Regions from separate parts of the Homo sapiens genome. Here regions 2, 3, 4, 5, 6 and 7 are each linked to region 1. The links are contacts of gene promoters, found by promoter capture Hi-C in blood cells and fetal thymus (Javierre and others, 2016). All regions are on one chromosome and are shown on one strand. Each heading gives the region's core, a stretch centred on a gene start or on the middle of the fragment in contact. The rest is flanking DNA. Distances are from core to core; before and after follow the strand shown.

Region 1 (2,700 bases), core at 58-2,557:
AGAGCCCACAGGGTCGTCTGCTCTAGACTGAGCCTGCAGACATCTTCCATCCCAGGGCCAAAGGGTAAGGGCCAGGGTTTCAGGTTCACCAAACTGCAGCCCTGGTCCCTTCGTTTAGTGTGAGGAGGGGCACCAGTATGATGAGTGGTTAGTAATGGGTGCAAAGCGGGTGGGGGGATGCCTGGGTATGAGGGCTCCTCTTCCTGGGTCTAGCTCTGGCTCCAACACCTACCAGCTGTGCTACTTGAGCTAATCTCTCAGACCTCAGTTTTACGCTATAAAATGAGGACAATGATGGTGTCAAGTGCATAGAGCTATTATGAGTATTAAAATTCATCAACAAAGATTTTTGTGTAGCTTCTATGTGCTAGGAACAGGGTTCCCATCCTAGCTAGCCACCTGCTGAGACTGAAACCCTGAGCCTCCATTTCTTCCTCTTTGGCCTGCACAGGTCCAGGTTGCTGCTATGGCTGGCTGGGCACCTCCTCCTGCCTCCATTCGCCCTAGGCCTCATTCCCACCTCCCACAGCCTGAACTCATGCCCCTTCTTTGGACTACTCAGCTTGTAGCTGCCACACTCTGTCTGCATTATGTGTGTGGACATTGACTATTACTGGCAGGCCTGGCCACAGAGCCTAGGCCAAGGATTTACTAGTTTGGTCCTTGTCTAGCTCACACTAACCACCTCTCCTTTTTTTTTTTTTTTTTTTTTTTTTTTTTTTTTTTGAGGCAGGGTCTCCGTCTATTGCCCAGGATCCAGGATAGAGTGCAGTGGTGTGATCAAAACACACTGCAGCCTCGACCTTCTGGGCTCAAGTGATCCTCCCGCCTCCGCCTCCCAAAGCAGGGATTCCAGGCGTGAGCCGCCGCTCCCGGCCTCACCTGGCCTTCTTTGTTGGGCTAGGTGGGGACTGGGAAATGCACAGGGCCACTTTCAAATCAAAGTCAGAAGCACTTTGCTCGCTCCACAGAGTCCTCAGTGCTCTGCTGAAAGCAAGGAGGCTTTTTCCAAGGCTCTAGTTTTGCCTCCAGGGAAACTGAGGCACAAGGCAGCAATGATTACTGAGGGTCCTGCCTCCGCTCCTCTAGGTGAGGAGCCTATTCCAGGGGCTCCAGTCTGAAAGCCTAGAGGCGAGGGGCGCGCACTACAATTCCCAGAGGTCCCCGGACTCAAGGGCGGTCCCCGCCCCCCGCCTTCTCCGCGCGACGAAGCCGGGCTTACCAATGGGAGCCCGGAGTGGGGCGAGCAGGGGCGGGACGGGGCGGGACTGCGGGGAGGTGGCCGGCGGGCCGCGCCGCGAGCCAGTATCTCAGAGAGCGCGGGGTCCGGACAGCCGCGCGCTGAGGGTCTCGGGGCGGGCGCCGCGGGACCTCTCCGGGCCATGGGTAAGCGGCTCTGCGGCGCGGCCCGGACAGGGGCTCGGCGGCCCTGCAGGGAGGTTCAAGGTGCCGGCGCCGGGTCCCCTCCAGCCCTCGTGGCAGTCGGTGCGCTGTGTGGGGCGGAGAGGGGCCCGGGGTGGGTTTCGGGGCGCGGGCCAAGGGGAGCGAGCCCGGCCCGCGGCTTCAGCGCTCCCCGGCCGGCGCGGAAGGGGTGAGGCTGGGCGTCCGCGCGAGCTTCGAGAAAAGGAAAGACAAAAAGTTTTGGCGGCCAGGGGCTTCCCGGGCGTTTATCTCGAAACTCTTTTCGCCGTCTCTTGCCTGAAATATGCCGAGCCCGGTACGGCTCTGTCGTCCCACTTCCTGCTGCGGTTTCCACCTCGAGCTGGGCTCAGCTAATTTGTTGTGACAGCTGTCGGCAGCCGCCCCTCCGCCCCGTGACATCCCGCAGGTTTCAGAACCGCGGCGCCGCCGGGCACAGACTCCGGGTCCAGAGCGCGCGGCCCTTTCCTCTGCGGCCGCCGTTTCCTGAAAGGGGCTGCGCGGGTGTGAAGAACTTGCTCAATGCGCTTTGTAGGATCCACTGTTCCTCTTTCGGCCGCGGGCTGCGCCGATGGTCCGGGGAGCCCGGCTTCTCGCCCCCTGCCCCTTCCTTCTCTTCCCTTTTCTCTTTTCCTCTCCTGTCTCTCCGCCCACCCGCCGCAGCCCCACAGGAGAGGGGTCGCTTCCCTGGTTGCTCTCCTCTCCTGTCCCTTGTGTGTCCCCTTGTCTTCCCTCGGTCTGCAGAAGGGACGGGGTGGCGGCTGGGGAGCGTCAGGGGAAGAGGGCAAGAGCGTGGGCTACGAGCTTGCAGGCGATGCCCGGCTTCGCGCTCGGCGGGAGCTGCGGGCCAACCCGGGCCCGCGCTCCGTCCCTCCGCGGTGTCTAGGGGTCGCCCGGGCTGGGGTCGCGTCACCCTCCGCCCAGCGCCGGCGTGGTGGGGCTTGCGCGGTGCAGGACCCCCGAGGGCCCAGGGGGTCCCAAGGCGCTGCGGGTCCAGTGTCCCTTTGTTTGCAGAGTCTTGGGCCAGTAAGGAGTGCTCCGCGGGCCCCAGGGGAGGACAACAGGTGCCTCTTGCCCCACCCGGGCTCCTCTGGTGGGAGCCCACACGCACGGTGGCGTCACTGCGCCTACAGGCAACGCTAGAGCACAGGAGGGGTGGGAGGTCGGGGCTCGAGGGCTTCACCCCGCAGCAGAGCTCAGAGCCCAATCCAGGCCTTAGGGACCCGCCTGGGGCCTAGAACTTGGTGTGGCAGAGGTAGAAAGGGCCTCCGATAATCTGCT
Region 2 (2,720 bases), core at 28-2,527, 300 kb before region 1:
ATACAGCCCACTGTAGAATATTGGTCATCCAGCCTAGTGATCCTGTGGCTGGCAGAGCTGCACTCACTGCTGCTGCCCAGCATCACGAGAGAGCATCGCACCACATATCACTCACCTAGGGAAAGATCAAAATCCAGCATTCGAAATACAGCTTCTACTGAATGCACATCGCTTTCGCATCATTGCTGAAGTAAAAAAAATTAAGTTGAACCTTCATAAGTCAGGAACTGTCATGACAATGTCATCTTTTCTTCTGGGCCCCACTCAAAACTGATAGCCTTTTAAGTTATTCAGAAAATGGGTCAGAGAAGAACATTGAAATGAGGTATACATTGCCTTCAAAATCCAAAACCACTGGGCATTGTGCCTCTTAGTGGTAGTAGGGCCCAGCTTAACATGCCCCAGACCGTTAGGCCCCCCAGAAGGTTCACTGAATGTTTGTGGGATTTATTTCCCACCCTCTGGCATACATATATCTCGTCAAGGTGGCTAGAATAGTTACTACTTCTAATCAGCATATTATCAACACATTAGATGAATGTGATGTCCTGTGGAGTAGAGAAGAGGACAAGGTCTCCACAAACTAGATGATGACAGATGACTGCGAATTGATACAGTCCTGAGTTTGGATAACGAATAGGTATTGCTAGCCCTGTCAGCTCAAAGCAAACTGCTTTTGATGGTCTTTACTAAAAATTGCTGAGGAAAAAAGCATTCATCAGATCAATAGCTGCATACTTTGCTCCAAGGGATGCATTGATTTGCTTCATGAATGAAGGCACACCTAGAATAGCAGCTGCAATTGGAGTCACAACCTAATTGAGTTTATAATAATCCACGCCATTCTCTTGGATCCATCTTGGATCTGCACAGGCTAGAGAGCTAAGCTGAATGGAAATCATCAGCTCTGTGTCTTTCAGATCATTGATTAGTGGTGGAACTAATTTCTGCAATCTCTCCAGGAATGCAGTGCTGCTTTTGGCTCACTGCTTTTATAGGTAGAGGCTAACATTTATATGGTTTGTCTTTTTTTTTTTTTTTTTGAATAGAGTTTCGCTCTTTTTGCCCAGGCTAGAGTGCAATGGCACTATCTCAGCTCACTGCAACCTCTGCCTCCCGGGTTCAAGCAATTCTCCTGCCTCAGCCTCCCAAGTAGCTAGGATTTCAGGCATGTACCACCATGCCCAGCTAATTTTGTATTTTTAGTAGAGATGGGGTTTCTCCATGTTGGTCAGGCTGGTCTCGAACTCCGACCTCAGGTGATCCACCTGCCTCAGCCTTCCAAAGTGCTGGGATTACAGGCGTGAGCCACCTCGCCCGGCCTCCATTTTTTTTCAATTCAGCATAATTTGTATTGTCTCTGAAACTCAGCTTCCTCATCTGTGAAATACAGATAATGATGCCAGCCTTACTTGTGTTCAGAGGTTGTTGTAAGACTCAAATAAGATTGTGTAAGCTAAAATACATTACAAACTGTAGAACCCTCTACAGGGTATAAGGAATAAGCGCTAGAATTATTATTACCTCCTTCCATCCCCTCTTATATAGAAAATTTAGATTATAGTCCCCTTGTTACTATTTCAATCTATGTTTTTTGTTGTTGTTTTTGTTGCAAGTACTTGGAATCCACTCAAAGTAGTTTAAGCATAAATATGGAATCGAATTTGAAAGATCCAGGAGTGTCTCAAGAAGCTCAGAATTCACAGGCAGGAAAGGCACTTGCGCATCATAAGGTGGTAGAAAAAGGAACTGAAAAGGCATTGGGAGCTGTGGCCATGAGAGTGCACTGCTCACATCTCTGAATGCAGGGGAGCGTAACATGGCCCCCTGCTGCTGGGCTATGAAATTCTGCCACTGCATTTGCACTGAGACCACCCTTCTTGTGAGCTGCTCCCACCCGGTGACTGAGTGCAGGCCTGCCATACTAAGGCAGGCCCATTTCTGGGATATGGGGACTCCTCTGACAGGTGGCTTTGGCACAAGCACACCTCATCAGCTCTTGCAGAGCTTTCTTAGAACTACACTACGTTCTAAGCTGGGCATGGTTAGGCATGTGTAGTCCCAGCTACTCAAGAGGCTGAGGGAGGAGAATTGCTTGAGCTCAGGAGTTTGAGGCCAGCCTGGACAACAAAGGGAGACTGTCTCTGAAAAAGAAAGAACTACACTGCGTTCTAACACCTCCTCAACCCAGCCCTCCTCCATTCCTGTCTCCTGGCAGGGGCTACACCTGCATTGCAGCTCTCCCAGGCTCTTCCGGCTTCCTGCTATTCGCTTCACAAGTGTTTTCCCAGCACATCTCTTGCACATTTAGTCCTATCTGGGCATCTTCTCAGAGGACTCAAACCTTAGGACAGGAACCTAAGTAATTCCTCTTTTGCAACTCCAAGTCTATGTGGACTCTTATTTTCTTTCTACTTTTCTACTTCCTTTCTGCTTTACTCTTTCACCCAACCCCTACCTAATCTTCTCAGCTTTTCCATTTATATAAAGAAAAATGTCTGACCCAGTTTCTAAATTTACAAATCCTTCCAGTTTGAGCACTAATTGACACTGATGTCTTTGAATCCTCACTTCAAGCTCCCAAAAGAAAGAATCAAGTGCCTTCACTTGGATTAGGAGCTCATCCCCGGTCCGGTTGTGGTAATTATGGCCAAGGAGACAGGTCTCATGATACAGACAGTATTACTGAGATTCACATCTCAGCTGATGACTTGCTTTGT
Region 3 (2,700 bases), core at 172-2,671, 400 kb before region 1:
ACTCCAGAGCTGAAAGAAAGTTTTGTTGTTTTTTTCAATTTCTGAATAGGAGAAGCTTTCGGTTTTGATGTATCGGTTTCTACTTTATATCATGATCAGAATGTTTACATTGGTCTACTTTCAGAGTTGCAGGTTTTCATGGCATTTCATGGTATATCATAAAATTATCAGGGTAAACTTTCACAACTGTTCCACGAGCATTGGGAAGGATCAGTCTGTTTTCAGGGTACAGAGTCACTTGTCACCCCCCTCACAACCTCCCCAGCCTGGTCTGATTCAATATCCATCCCCTCCCCCTTTGTGAGGTGCTACCCACGTGCCCCGTCACCCCTTTCTCTGTGACTCATGTTTGCTGAGAGCCACTGAGAAAGCGGTGTTTGGGGCCTGGGAAGGTCCTTGGGCCCAGGCAGCTTCCCTGGCTGCCTCACCTGGCTAACATGACAGCCCTGAAAGGTCTCGTGCTGGACGCCCTCCACCTGCGGTAGGCCTTCCTGCTCCAACCCCTAAGCCAGACTCCCACCCAAACCTCCTCTGCCCCTCCCTCGTGGGGCTCTTCCTGCCTCCTGAACCAGACCATCAAGCCCACAATGAGAGAGACCCCACCATCACCAGGATCTGATCCCCGGCGCCACACAGCCGCTGCCAGCACAGGAACCACAGCCCACCTGCCTCCAGCCTCCACTCTCCCATGGCCACAGTCTGTGTTCCTTCTGCCTGCTCACTGGCACCACTGGCACATGTCCCAGCCCCACAGTGCTGCCCTCAGCCCGTGGCCCAGCACTTGGCTTGTGCAGCCTGCTACCTTGGGGTCCCACTTTGGCTCAGCTCCCCAAGCTGGCACACAGCCCCAGTCCATGGTGGTGGTATCTGGTACATGAGACCGCTGCTAGAGTACTCAACAAGCAGGTATCATGGGCACTGCCTGCCCCATCGCCAGGGAGAGGACAGTGTCAGGGATGAGAAGCGAGACAAAGCAGGTGGTGGCGCCCTAGCTAAGGCACAACTACAGGTGGGTAGAGGAAGGCCTGGGGCCCAGAGCAGCACCCAGAGTACCACCTCCAGGTACCAGGTACCAGACAGAAGTGAGACCCCCACCTTCCCCACAGGAAGCAGGCAGGTGATGGGGAGGATGGATAGCCTCACCCATGGGGACCAGGCGACTTGGGCCCAAGCCGTGCTGTCCCCTCCCCGGCACCAGCCTGTCCTGCGTGTGGCCTGGCTCACCTGGCAGGATCTCGTTCCAGTTGACACGGATATAGCGGTCCCGGTCGGCCCGCGTGTGCTCGTGCCAGAAGCCCAGCACATGCATGAGCTCATGAAGGACAATGCCCCGGCCCTTCTGGAGACACGTGGGCGCCAGGGAGACCACCTGCATCCCTCCACTGCGCCCCACACTCGAGAAGCACCTGCAGGGTGATGAGAGCAAGTGGGGTAAGTGCCAGCCCAGATCCCTCCGGACATACAGACCTGGGCTCTCCCTCCCCACACAACACAAGATAGACAAACTCCCAACAGGCAGGCCCCACTCTGGGCTCTAGTCTCAGGTTCACCATTCTCCAGGCCCCTTTACTGCCTGGACTTCTGTGAAATGGCCATACCGGACCCCCATCACCAGCCTGGGCTGCAGGGAGGCTGCAGAAACTGATATATGAACACAGAGGACAGAAGCAGCTTACTAAGTGAGCACACCCTCCTGGTCAGCCCTAAGCCAAGGCTTTCACACAAATTGCCTCAGGCCCCTGACAAGCTAGGAAGCAGGTATCGCCACCACTCGCACCCCAGAGGGGACAGAAGAGGCTCAGAAGTTAGGGGACTTGCCAGGACTCAGTGACTCACGCACTGTCTGCCCCGCAAAACCTCCTCTCCTCACCACCTCATGGAGTCCCCCGGGAGAGGAGGGCTTTGTAAATGGAGGGTCTAGCACCGTTCCCATCCCTTTCCCACATTCCGCCCTGGAGGTCCAGCTCACACTTGGCAGACCCCTCAGGGTGGGCAGGGAGACTGAGCCCTGGAGGATGGGCCCAGGAATACATTTTAGACAATGGCCAAGTTAATTCCGGGCTGAACGCAGAAGCGAGCTGAGATACGCATCCTGGCCCCGGCACTTACCCATACATGGGGATGATGGAAATGAAGTCTCTCTGGTCCTGATAGGTGACAAACCTGATGCACGTGGAACGTTCAAACTCCGCAAGAGCCTCCAGGATGACCTGGCGGCTGGGCTCATCTGGAAGACACCACCTGGCTGAGCCCCCAGAGCCCTGGTGGTCTTTGAGCTCTACCTGAGGGTCTGGGAGCAGAGCTCTGAACTCACTCTCCCAAAATAGCATCAAGAAAGGGCAGCTTAGTGGTGCCAGGAAGAAGCTGGGCCCCAGACAGACCCTGGCTGTGTGGCCTTGGGTAGGTCACTGTCCTCTGCACCGCATGGTCTCAAGGGGAACCAGATCCCCACTCGACATACCTTCCCATCAGATTTTAACCCTCCCTACTCAGGAGACCTTCAGCAACAGAAGGGCATCTGTGGACAGGTTCTTCGGGTGGGGAGGTGGAAGGGATGTGATGGTGTAAGAGGAAAAGGGAAGAGAGGAACACCTGCCGCATTAGGAAGAAGGGGCTGAGGCAGGGAGGGAGCGCGCCATGCTCACTCACCGTACTTGCTGGAGAGCAGGAAGGGGACCTCCACGACACCACTACCACCCA
Region 4 (2,700 bases), core at 3-2,502, 320 kb after region 1:
GAGATGACATTGGAGCTGGGATCTGAAGAAAAGCATCAGCTAGCTTAACGGTTGTAGGAAGTTCATTCTAAGGAGATGGGACAGCAAGTCCAACGGCCTTAACTCAGGAAAAGGTCTTGCATATTTGAGACACCAAAACAAGACCAGTGTGGCTGCGGCGTAGTGATTGGGGGAAGAAAAGCATGAGAAATAAAATGAGGAGGAGAAGTAGAACCGGCAGGGGTGGGTCTACAGAGCTTTGTAGGCCATAACAGGGAATGATGTGATTTCTAATTTTCAAAAAGCCGCTCTGGCTGCTATGTGAGAGTAGAAAACCCTGTAGGAAGGCAAGCGTGGAAGCAGAAAGACCCTCTGAGGCAACCACTTCAGCAGTGCAGAGGACAGCGGTAGGAGGGGCGGAGGGAAGTAGGCAGGTGCCAGAACCACGGTAAAGGAAGAGTTCCATGAGAATGCTTACACAGCAGTGGCAATCGAGGGCTGCATCCGCAAGGGCAGATGACACAGCACAGTGGTTCCCAACGCTCACAAGAAGCACCCTGGTTTCCCGCCTTCCTCTGTTCCTATTGGCACCATAATCTCTGTATAATCTGGGCCAAACGTGTTACCTCTCTGGGTCCCACAGATGAGATACTGTGCCCTGCCTCGAAGGCTGCCCGTGCGAAGCTCTTGCCATCTTTAAAGCATGCAGGCTGCCTGGCACCCGGGGCTAAACAAAGGCCACTGCTCTCCTTCACCGCGCAGCCCCCAGGCCTGCAGCTCCATGCCCCTCAGGTTGGGTGCAATGCCCCTGGTGCAGATTCTGCTCCCCGGGCCCTCTCTCAAACACCTGAGCAGGCTTGTGTCTCCCAGGGGAGGTCGTCCCCCGCTACTCGGGAGGGTTACGGAAACCAGTGCTTCCGCTTCCCCGCCGCCCGCGGGACAGGTGTCTCCTGGCCGAGCTCGTGCGGGGCCCTGGGAGGCTCTCAGTACACGGGAACCGTGGGTCCCGCCCGCCTTCCCGCACCAGGCCCCAAGCCCCAAGCCCCAAGCTCTCGGGGCCCCGTTCATCCGCCTCTCCTTGGCCCCACGCCTCCTCCTTGGGCCGGGGCCTGGTGAGAACCACGAGGGCCGCGCGGCAGCCTCACCCCTCTCGAAGTCCATCTCCTCCAGCGTCTGCTGTACGCCGAGCACCGCGCTGGGATGCGAGCAGCAGGGCCCGTCCGCGCAGGGCCGAGGCGTCGCCATCCCGGCCCCGGCGTCAGTCGATCCGCCCCGGGTCTCAGGCTCAGCCTCGGCGGGAGGGGCGGACGCAGGGCCCGCCCCGCGTCCCTGATCTGGCCGCTCGGCGTCCGCGGCTGTCGCCCTAGTCCCGCCTTCTCGCCAAAGCTGACCAATCAAACGCCTAGGCCTTAGCTCGAGAACCAATTGCAACGGTAGGGCGGGGCTTGTTGCGCCCGGCCGTGCCCCGAGGCCTCCGCGCGAGGGCGTCCAAGGCCAAGCGAGGACTGAGGCGCTGGGTTCCGGGAGCCGCGCGCCGCTGGAGGGCCGCCGGGCCGCCTGGCCTTGCAGGGTGTGGGGATGAGGCAGCTGGGTCCGGTCGGGAGCTTTCCCGTTACCTTCGCCATGACCCAGCCGTCCAGCGACCTCGCAGCCTCCTCTCTTTACCGCCCCTAGTCCCTAGGGCAGGGAGGCGCCACGCGCTCCGCGGTCTTTTTTTTTTTTTTTTTTTTTTTTGAGACGGAGTCTCGCTGTCACCCAGACTTGTGTGCAGTGGCGCGATCTCGGCTCACTGCAACCTCCGCCTCCCGGGTTCAAGCGATTCTCCTGCGTCAGACTCCTGAGTAGCTGGGACTACAGGCGCCCGCCACCACGCCCGGCTAATTTTTTGTATTTTTTAGTAGAGACGGGGTTTCGCCAGGATGGTCTCGATCTCTTGACCTCGTGATCCGCTCACCTTGGCCTCCCAAAGTGCTGGGATTACAGGCGTGAGCCATCGGGCCGGGGCGCGCTCCACGGTTTTTAGCCCCTCTTCCTGGCACCACCCCGGACCAAGGCCGACCGCCCCCGGGGCAGCGGCAAAGTGACGGCTGGAAAGGCCTCGAGACGCCCCTCCCCGTACCCTGCTCTTCCTTACAAGTCCAGCAAGGGGCAGGTGGCCACAACTTGTCCTGCCTGTAGCTCCACCTCAGGGCAGGGGCAGGGCCTTGGTTTGTGCAGAACCCCCTGGCCCCACAGTGGGCGCTGAGTTTACGGAATCGGTCTTCATGATCAAAACCCACCGGGAGGCCGTCTGCGGACCGCGCACCTTCGCAGCGTGCTCCTCAGCGGACCCCAGCCTTCTCAATTCCCAGTTAAAACCCAGGCAGCTGCCTGCTCAAGCCACGATCAAGTGTACAGGGGAGACCGCCTGATCGGCTTAGAAAGAGTGCATGAACGACAGAATGCAGGTTGGGTTCTGTGCCAGTCCCTCTCCAGGACAGTGGTCTGGTGCACACTGGATGTAAGTTCCTTCCCCCGCTAGTTGGGGCACGGAAGACCCTAGCATTCCTGGTGGGTAGAAGGCTGGAAGTCGTTTCTCCTCCCCTAAGCAGGTTGAGAACCCCATCCTCACACAAGCAATGATCTCATCTCCACAACCTTCCACTCCTTTGGCCCCTCATTCCCACTACCCGTCTTGAGTTCTGGGAAGGCACCCCCCCCACCACTCCGCTTCTCCCCTGG
Region 5 (2,700 bases), core at 92-2,591, 360 kb before region 1:
TTTTTAAAAGGCTTTCAAGTTTATTCATTAGAAATCATAGTTCTCAGATTTTATTGCTATTTTCACTTTGAGAAAAATATTTAGATTTCTGTCCTATCATGGTGGGTTCAGAGACTGGTGACTTTGAAATTTAATACCTTTAGAAAACGTTATTTCAAGATGTCCCCACCCCCCATCCCTTCATTACACAGTATGGTACTGGGAGTGGTGTACATTCTGAAGTGTTCTAGAGAAAAATGATTCCAGATACTTACAGAAACAGAACTCAAACAATTGGTGAAAGAGATAAAGTTCAAGCAACTGGCTATTATACTGGATGGAACTAGAGGGTAAGAAGTGTAAACCACATAAAATTTAACACAGAAAGCAAGCCTAAACCAGGCATAGTGGCTCACACCTATAATTCCAGTGCTTCGGGAGGCCAAATTGGGAAGATTGCTTGAGGCCAGTTTTGAGACCAGCCTGGGCAACATGGTGAAAGCCCACCTATAAAATAAATACAAAAATTATCCAGGTGTGGTGGCTCGTGCTGTAGTCCCAGCAGAGGTGGGAGGATTGCCTGAGCCCAGGGAGTTGAAGACTGCAGTAAGCCTTGACTGCGCCACTGCAATCCAGCCTGGGTGACAGAGTGGGACTCTGAAAAAACAAAAGTCAAGCAAGCAGGCAAGCCTAGGCCAGGCACAGTGGCTTACACCTGTAATTCCAATACTTTGGGAGATCTAGGTGGGAGGATCACTTGAAGTCAGGAGTTTGAGACCAGCCTGGGCAACACAGTGAGACCCCATCTCTACAGAAAAATTAGATGGGAATGGTGGTGCATGCCTGTGGTTGGTCTGGGCTACTCAGGAGGCTGATGTGGGAGTTCACTTAAACCCAGGAGTTCAAAGCTGCAGTGAGATCTGATGGCACCACAGCACTCCAGCCTGGGCACCAGCGAGACTATCTCAAAAAATAAAATTTTTTAAAAAGCAAGCTCATGGGGCATATGTTCTCAAGATCTCCTGAGGGCTGTGTCACTAGCCAAAAAATAAAAATAAATAAATAAATAATAAAAAATAAAGCAAGCTATGATCCAAGCTTCCAAACAAGTCAACTACCCCCAGGGGAAAGAATCTGGCAGTATTTATAAACATTAAGTTTTAGGGGGAAAATAAAAAAATTTAAAAACATAAGTTTTAAGCCATGCTGCCAGCTGTCTTTGGAGATGTTAGAGCTAGGTCTGCATCCTGGCTGTCACTTCCTGTGTGACCCTGAGCAAGAAAATTACTTAACCTCTAATGCCATCTCTTCATTTTATAGATGAGGCACTAGCTACATACTCACAGGGCTATAGAATTAGATGAAGGCATGAAGCATGGTGCCTGGCACAGTAGATGCTCAATAATGGTGGCTATTATTGGCTAATCCCAAACTCAGCATAAGCCAACAGTATGACAAGACTTACATCAGTAGTATGCGGATCTAGGAAGACTGTTGCCTCTCTAGCCTATTTGTCTCCCTTTGATCACATTCAACATTTAACACTTGTTCATGTACACTTGCACAACACTTGCTCACCCCTAGAGGTTTCAATGGTCTGGGGTGGGGCCAGGCTTTGGGAGTTTGCAAAGCTTCCCAAGTGCAGCCAAGCTTGAAGACCACTGCTCTACATTCTATTATATGAAGCACAGGTGAAGTTACAAAAGGTAGACTACTGTTCTAGATGAAAAGTGGCCAAAGAAGGCCGGGCGAAGTGGCTCACGCCTGTAATCCCAGCAGTTTTGGGGGCTGAGACGGGTGGATCACTTGAGGTCAGGCGTTTGAGACCAGCCTGGCTAACATGGTGAAACCTCATCTCTACTAAAAATATAAAAATTAGTTGGGTGTGGTGGTGCACGCTTGTAATCCCAGCTACTCGGGAGGCTGAGGCAGAAGAATTGCTTGAACCCGGGAGGTGGAGGTTGCAGTGAGCTGAGATGGTGTCAATGCACTCCAGCCTGGGTGACAGAGCAACACTCTGTCTCACAAAAAAAAAAAAAAGTGGCCAAAGAGACAAATGCAACACACGATAATTAATCTTGGGTTGGGGAGGCTATAAAAGTCATTTTGGAAATTTTAATATGAACTGCATTATTAGATATTGTGGCATTGTTATTTATCTTGTGTGCTCATGGTATTGTGGCTACACAGAACACCTGTATTATAAAAAGCATGCTCAACTGTTTAGGGGTGAAATACCATGATGTTTGCATCCTACTTTCAAATGATCATGACACTGTGTATATAGAAAGAGAAAGCACACACAGCAGATGTTAAACACCAGCAAAGGGAAGGGTATACAACGTAGTTTCTTCGTCTTTTTCTATATATATATACATTTTTTAAAATGAAAACCTCATACTAACACTCAACCCACGGTCACCACGCTGTGATAGCTAAGCCCACGCTAGCTATTAAAGCATCACTACTTTCCTATTATTTGGTTCTCCTGTTCATAGAACACTCAGTGCTGCTGTCTCACAACATGTCTACACAAACCACACAACAAAAACTGCAAGGCCTATAGAGAAATGGGTTTAGGTGTGCAATACTCAAATCTTTGTGACACATAAAAAGGTACCAGTTTCAAATATGTCAATGGTTAAGAAATAAAGCAGTCTACCTTGACCTGCAATTTGCAGGCAGAAACACACTGGACAGCCCACCCAGCTCCCACGCGTA
Region 6 (2,700 bases), core at 111-2,610, 380 kb after region 1:
ACCAGCCTGCCCAACATGGAGAAACCTCGTCTCTACTAAAAATACAAAAATTAGCTGGGTGTGGTGGCACGCACCTGTAGTCCCAGCCACTTGGGAGGCTGAGGCAGGAGAATCGCTTAAACACGGGAGGCGGAGGTTGCAGTGAGCTGAGACTGTGCCATTGCACTCCAGCCTGGGCGACAGAGTGGGAAAAAAAAAAAAAGAAAAAGAAAAAAAGAAAGGGGGAAATAAGCCCTAGGCAACCAAAAACACTCCTATTAACCTCACACCCAAAGATGGCCTTTCTTTTCCCCTAAACAGAATTGGCATCACACTTTACATATGGCTTCAAAGCCTTTTTTCCACTCAGCGTATTTCATTAACTTTCCCATTTTCCTGTGACATCATTTTTAGGTACCATATAATACTCCGTAGCACGGGCAGAACTGAATCGATGGTGGGGCACTGAGGCAATTTCCAGTTCTTCACTATCATGACATTGCTATGCCAAACATCCTTGTCAATGAATCTTTGCCATCTAGTTCCCCAGAAAACGATCTAGCTTTTTGAAGGGTGTGCACATTTTAAAGTCATTTGCTTGATTTTGCCAAACTGGCCTCCAGAGGGACTACTGACCGCATCTCATGAGCAGGGAAGCATATGCCTGTTTCCTCACATCCTGCCAACACTGGGCAGCACTGTCCTTTCGGATTGATTCTGGTCTGCCAGGCAAGGAACTCTACGTCATTGTCAGGGCTGGTTTCGTGAGCCGTTTTACGCAGGCTTTGTCCATTCCTCCATCTGACCAGGCAGCCTGCGGGAGCTGGCTTCATCTGACCTTCTGCTTTGAAGCAGCGCACACAGGATGTTTAATGAATAGCCGCAGGCAGTGAAGGAAGAGGATCCCCAGAGCCTGGGACATCAGCTTTCAGTAGAGTGCAAGCAGTTGCAGGAGCCCTGAACAGAAGTGGGGATGGCATGCTGCTCTTCCCAAAGCTGCCTGAGCTGCCCCAATGGCGCCACCTCCCAAGGTGGATGTTCCTCCAAGAACCTCCTCTTCCCCTTGGCTCTGTTTCAGGTGGTCTGCCTTAGTATTCACTTTCATTTTTCATGGTTAGGCCCAGCTCTTCCTTACATTTGCAGTGCATCCCATGAAGTCTTGAACGCTGAGGCAGGGGCTGCGGGTGTACTGCATGAGTGTCAGCAGGAGTTCTCGCTTTGTGCTTAACCAGTCAGTCGAGCAGACAAAGAGTGTGACAGCCCTTCGTACACCAATCTGCCCTTCTTCCTGGGGTCAGTCTGGGCACAGAGCCCAGTGGGGCAGCCACCAGTGAAGGCAGCCAGTAAGCTCTGTGGCCGCCGCGGGAAGCACAGTGGAGCAGCAGCTCACTGAAGACCCACAGTGAGTACAACGCGGCAGGAAAAAAGAATTAGGAGCCCTTTACAACCCAATCAGGGATGACGGCCAGAACACACCCTGAAGAGCAAAGAAGGTGCGGAAACGGCGGGTACGTGCACACGCAGACAGAGGCTGGCGGCCAGCCAGGTGGCTCTGGCTCAGGGGAAGAAGCGCATTTTCAACATCAAATTTGAAAGGAGTACTTTCAAAAAGGTACTCCTTGGTACCTTACGAATTTTGTTTTATTTGAATGCTTTTATCTATTTAGAAAAATAAAATCAATAACACTGATCCCGATAAGGCACCCTCCTTCCTAGTAAAGCTCTTGGCACAAAGCATCACCCTGCTGACGTGGCTGCCTGAAAGGCAGGCGCAAGATGCTCTGTTTCATTCATTTCCTGGCATTTAAAGGGCAATTGCCATGGGCCCTGGAGCTACCCACAGATTCCACAAAAGACACTGATTCATGAAATCACAGTTTAACATGGCTAGCAGATGAAGGAGTGAAGTCATAAACTTAGGATATGGAGAAGGTAGCTTCAAATCTGTCTTGAAAGGATGAATTATTAAGACCAAAAAGCTGAGGCATGGTGGCTCACACCCGTGATCCCAGCAGTTTGGGAGGCTGAAGTGGGAAGATCACTTCAGCCCAGGGATTTGAGATCGGCCTGCACAACATAGGGAGACCTTGTCTCTACTAAAAATTTAAAAATTAGATGGGTGTGTTGGCATCTGTCTGTAGTCCTAGCTACTAAGGAGGTTGAGGCAGGAGGATTACTTGATCCCAAGAGGTCGAGGCTGCAGTGAGCCATGATGGTACCACTGCACTCCAGCCTGGGTGACAGAGTGAGACCCTCTCTCAAAAAACAAAACAAAAGGCAGAAAAATTGACGTTGGGTCCCCACTGGCTGTTTGGGGATGGAAAAAATCAAGTTAGATCCTTCTCTCATACCAAGGACAAACAGATTTGAGTTGGGATTAAGAGCTGATGGACACAAAGTAAAGCCAGTCCTGAAAGAGAAGAAAGCACACTATCTTTATGGTCTTGGTGGGGAAACCCTTCGTCTTCCACATGGAAAGATTACATTACACAAAAATCCCAATCAATTCTCTGCATTATCCATAAAACTGTCCTGTAAATCTAAATCTATTCTAAAATAAAAAAAAAAAGGACTGAAAAAGTAAAAAAAAAAAGAAAAAAAATTCCAGTTCACTGAAAGGTACCATACATAAAGATTTAAAAAGGACAATCTATATAACCTTTGGAGAAAACATACTGTAACATAATAAGCAACATGAAGATCAACAGAGTTGATAAGAAG
Region 7 (2,700 bases), core at 70-2,569, 420 kb before region 1:
CCTCTTCAGCTTCATCCTCTGGAGATGCCCCACAAACACCCTCCTTCTGGCCCTGGCCTGAGTTGGGAAGGGCAGCCCAACTGGGTGGCAAGGCCCGGGTCCCAGTATCTTCAGGGGTCTCCCCCTCCTCCTTCTCCCCAGTGGACTTCGAGTGTCCGTTGACCTCTCTGGCAGAAGCCACAGAGGCCAGGGCTGGCAGTTTGGCTGAGGCCAAAGCCCCACCATGGTCGGGTCGGGGCTGCTTGGACTCACCCTGCCCAGGCCCCCCCTTGGCCCTGGGACCTCTGCGGTTGCTGCGTTTGGCGATCAGGTAGATGCGCAGGTAGACAAGGATCATGATGAGGCAAGGAGCAAAGAAAGATCCGATGCTGGAGGCCAGGATGTACCAGGCCTCCTGGTTGAGCTTGCACTGGGGGCGCCCGCGCGGCTGGGGGCCCTGGTCGCCCTTGTAGATGAGGGGCGGCAGCGAGATGACGGCGGCGATGAGCCACACAGTGAGGATGATGCACTTGATGCGGCGCGGGGTGCGCTTGGAGTTGTACTCCAGCGCGCGGCTCACGGCCCAGTAGCGGTCCAGGCTGATGGCGCACAGGTGCACGATGGACGAGGTGCAGAAGAGCACGTCGAGCGCCAGGTACACCTCGCACCACGTGCGCCGGAAGTACCAGTAGCCCAGCAGCTCGTTGGCCAGCGAGAAAGGGATGATGAGCGTGGCCACCAGGATGTCGGCGGCGGCCAGCGACACCAGGAACAGGTTCTGAGGGGCGCGCAGCGAGCGGCTGGTCAACACAGCCAGGATGACCAGAGCGTTGCCGAAGATGGTAAAGAGAATGAGGAAGGTGATGGCCGCCGCTATGGCCGCTGTGGCCTGCACGGAGTAGGGGTCCTGGTGGTCCATGACGGGGCGGGAGGTGGGCAGAGGGAGCGCTGCCCGCCCAGTGCGCACCGTGGACGACAGCGCTGCCCGGCTCGGCTAGACAAGAGCGTCGCCCCTCGGGCGGCGCCGAGGGCGCTGGAGCCCCATGGCCTGGACGAGCGGGGCCTAGGAGGTCGGGAACACCCAGGACCAGCAGCCGCCCTCCTACATCCTCCTCCACCGGTGCCCGGGGTCCCTGCCGTCCGCCCCAGAGAAGTTTCCCAAGTTGTCCCGCCGCCGTCCCCGTCCCGCCCGGGACCGGAGAAAGTCGCGCCCTCCCGCCACGCGGATGCCGTACGCTCTGGGGGCGCGGGCCGGGCTGGGCCGGTTCTTAAAGGAGGCGCGGAGGACCTTGCGCCCGCTCAGCTCGCAGGCTTTCGCCCCAGCCGCGCCTGCAGGGGAGTGGGGAGCGGGGAGAGCGGCTGGAGGAAGGCGGAGACTGGAGGCGGGCGCGGGAGCGGGCGGGAGGCGGGGCGGTGGGCGGACCGAGGTGGGCTGAAGGTGCGCTTCGCGGGAGGCGTGAGCCCGGGACTTCCCGCGCCCGGACCCCGCCCAGCGCCTCTACCTGCCTTCCTCCCGGCGGCCGCGCCTCGGGAGAGCGGAGGGGCCCGGCGGCCGGGGTCTCCGGCCCCCAGGCAGGACGCGCGCAGCTGTGGAGGGGTCGGTGGGTGCCGGGAGCCGGGACGCGGAGCTAGCGCGCGGGCCGGCACCGGGACGGGACACTTCTCCCGGGGGAACCGGGCTGGGCCCGGCGCCGGTGCGCCCTGCTCTGCCTTCCGCCGCTCGGGAGCCCGCAGGGAGGGCAGGGCGGGCGTGGGGCTGGGGCGCCGGGTCGCAATACACCACAACCCCGCCCGGCTCGGCCGTGGAGACGCCCTGCGGAGAGGTGGGGGAGCGGGGAGCGGGGAGCCGGTCCCGACCCTTTCCCAGGCGCTGCCCCTCGCGGACCAGCTCCGTCGGGCCAGCGCCGCGCGAGGAGGGCGCGTCCCGGCCTGCGAGCGCCCCCTGCTGCCGCCCGCGGGCCCAGCCCGTCAGCGGCAGCCCGGGTCCCGGAGCCAGCGCTCGCAGCCTGGGTCTTAGGACTTCGGCTTCTTGTGTCTCCGCAGCTGCCTCAGTTTCCTCCATTAAGGGCAAAGGAGGTAACAGGGAAACTGGCTTGGACTCGAATCACAGCATCAACTGCGATTCAGCCAAGGGTTTGTACGGGGCACAGGGCGAGCTGCCGCCCCTTGACTAATGCGAAGGGGAGGTCCCTTCCTTGCCGTGGGGGAGTAAAGGGTGGGGACTTTGTCACACAGCTCCGAGAAAAAGCAGGTCTCAGGGGCAGCCGTGAAGAGAGGAGCGTCCCTCCGCTTCTGTAGTGACCCCGGGGGAAGGGGTTGACCCTCCCTCCCTGCTGCGGTCCTGCCCCACATACACACTGAAGCCCTTCTGGGGGTGACAGTGGAAAGAGGGTTGGGGTAAAAAGAAACTTCAGACTAAGGCCCCCCACTCGCCTTCAAAGCGCTATGAGCAACTGTTCTCCCTCAGGGCCCCAACTCACTCTCCCTGCCACACCGCCACCAGCACCAGCCTGGGCAGCCCTGAGGGCATGTTTCCCCGGTTCTGGAGCCCCTAATGTCATAAGCCCCGCCTCGAGCCAGGCCTCTTATTCACAGCCCACGACTCTGCAAGGCATCCTCTGTATAAATAAGCACCAATCCACCTCTGACAGTGGGGCTCCCCCAGGCCCCGTCCAACCTGCTGGACCTCCTCTCCTCCCTGCTCCCTCCATGGGAGCAGAG

Evidence for each region. The method cuts DNA at HindIII sites, captures the fragments that hold promoters and counts their contacts. A CHiCAGO score of 5 or more calls a contact.
Region 2: a contact is called between a fragment that was not itself captured here and the fragment with the promoter of ARID5A in region 1, in 1 of 17 cell types (neutrophils). The highest score is 5.4, in neutrophils.
Region 3: a contact is called between a fragment that was not itself captured here and the fragment with the promoter of ARID5A in region 1, in 1 of 17 cell types (activated CD4 T cells). The highest score is 7.3, in activated CD4 T cells.
Region 4: the fragment with the promoter of ANKRD39 here is called in contact with the fragment with the promoter of ARID5A in region 1 in 2 of 17 cell types (monocytes and erythroblasts); the score reaches 6.8 in monocytes.
Region 5: a contact is called between a fragment that was not itself captured here and the fragment with the promoter of ARID5A in region 1, in 2 of 17 cell types (total CD8 T cells and total B cells). The highest score is 7.4, in total CD8 T cells.
Region 6: a fragment that was not itself captured here is called in contact with the fragment with the promoter of ARID5A in region 1 in 1 of 17 cell types (non-activated CD4 T cells); the score reaches 5.3 in non-activated CD4 T cells.
Region 7: a contact is called between the fragment with the promoter of ADRA2B here and the fragment with the promoter of ARID5A in region 1, in 1 of 17 cell types (fetal thymus). The highest score is 6.1, in fetal thymus.

What each region holds. Positions count from the first base shown.
Region 1 is chr2:96,535,445-96,538,144 of GRCh38, forward strand. It overlaps ARID5A (AT-rich interaction domain 5A), which reads left to right and starts at 1,308. Exons shown (of 7, transcript NM_212481.3): 1 at 1,308-1,386. The coding sequence starts at 1,383. RefSeq lists silencers at 1,227-1,586, 2,267-2,476. The HindIII fragment of the contact is 5,212 bases long and covers 1-2,700 here.
Region 2 is chr2:96,232,220-96,234,939 of GRCh38, forward strand. The region is part of intron 1 of STARD7-AS1 (STARD7 antisense RNA 1); the gene reads left to right. Among named protein-coding and RNA genes, the nearest start is that of SNORA112, 19 kb to the left of the region's middle. RefSeq lists enhancers at 1,803-1,872, 1,883-2,032. The HindIII fragment of the contact is 9,545 bases long and covers 1-2,720 here.
Region 3 is chr2:96,131,316-96,134,015 of GRCh38, forward strand. ASTL (astacin like metalloendopeptidase) reads right to left here. Exons shown (of 9, transcript NM_001002036.4): 4 at 2,650-2,700; 5 at 2,110-2,227; 6 at 1,225-1,406. Among named protein-coding and RNA genes, the nearest start is that of ASTL, 5.8 kb to the right of the region's middle. RefSeq lists enhancers at 15-244, 1,247-1,747. The HindIII fragment of the contact is 2,736 bases long and covers 54-2,700 here.
Region 4 is chr2:96,856,764-96,859,463 of GRCh38, forward strand. ANKRD39 (ankyrin repeat domain 39) reads right to left here and starts at 1,253. Exons shown (of 4, transcript NM_016466.6): 1 at 1,125-1,253. The coding sequence starts at 1,224. RefSeq lists silencers at 914-1,083, 1,114-1,783. The HindIII fragment of the contact is 20,079 bases long and covers 1-2,700 here.
Region 5 is chr2:96,179,468-96,182,167 of GRCh38, forward strand. No RefSeq gene overlaps it. Among named protein-coding and RNA genes, the nearest start is that of STARD7-AS1, 28 kb to the right of the region's middle. The HindIII fragment of the contact is 533 bases long and covers 1,076-1,608 here.
Region 6 is chr2:96,915,617-96,918,316 of GRCh38, forward strand. The region is part of intron 12 of FAM178B (family with sequence similarity 178 member B); the gene reads right to left. Among named protein-coding and RNA genes, the nearest start is that of SEMA4C, 47 kb to the left of the region's middle. The HindIII fragment of the contact is 8,021 bases long and covers 1-2,700 here.
Region 7 is chr2:96,115,252-96,117,951 of GRCh38, forward strand. ADRA2B (adrenoceptor alpha 2B) reads right to left here and starts at 1,320. Exons shown (of 1, transcript NM_000682.7): 1 at 1-1,320. The coding sequence starts at 898. RefSeq lists silencers at 1,220-1,309, 1,410-1,569, 1,580-2,039, 2,080-2,149. The HindIII fragment of the contact is 8,066 bases long and covers 1-2,700 here.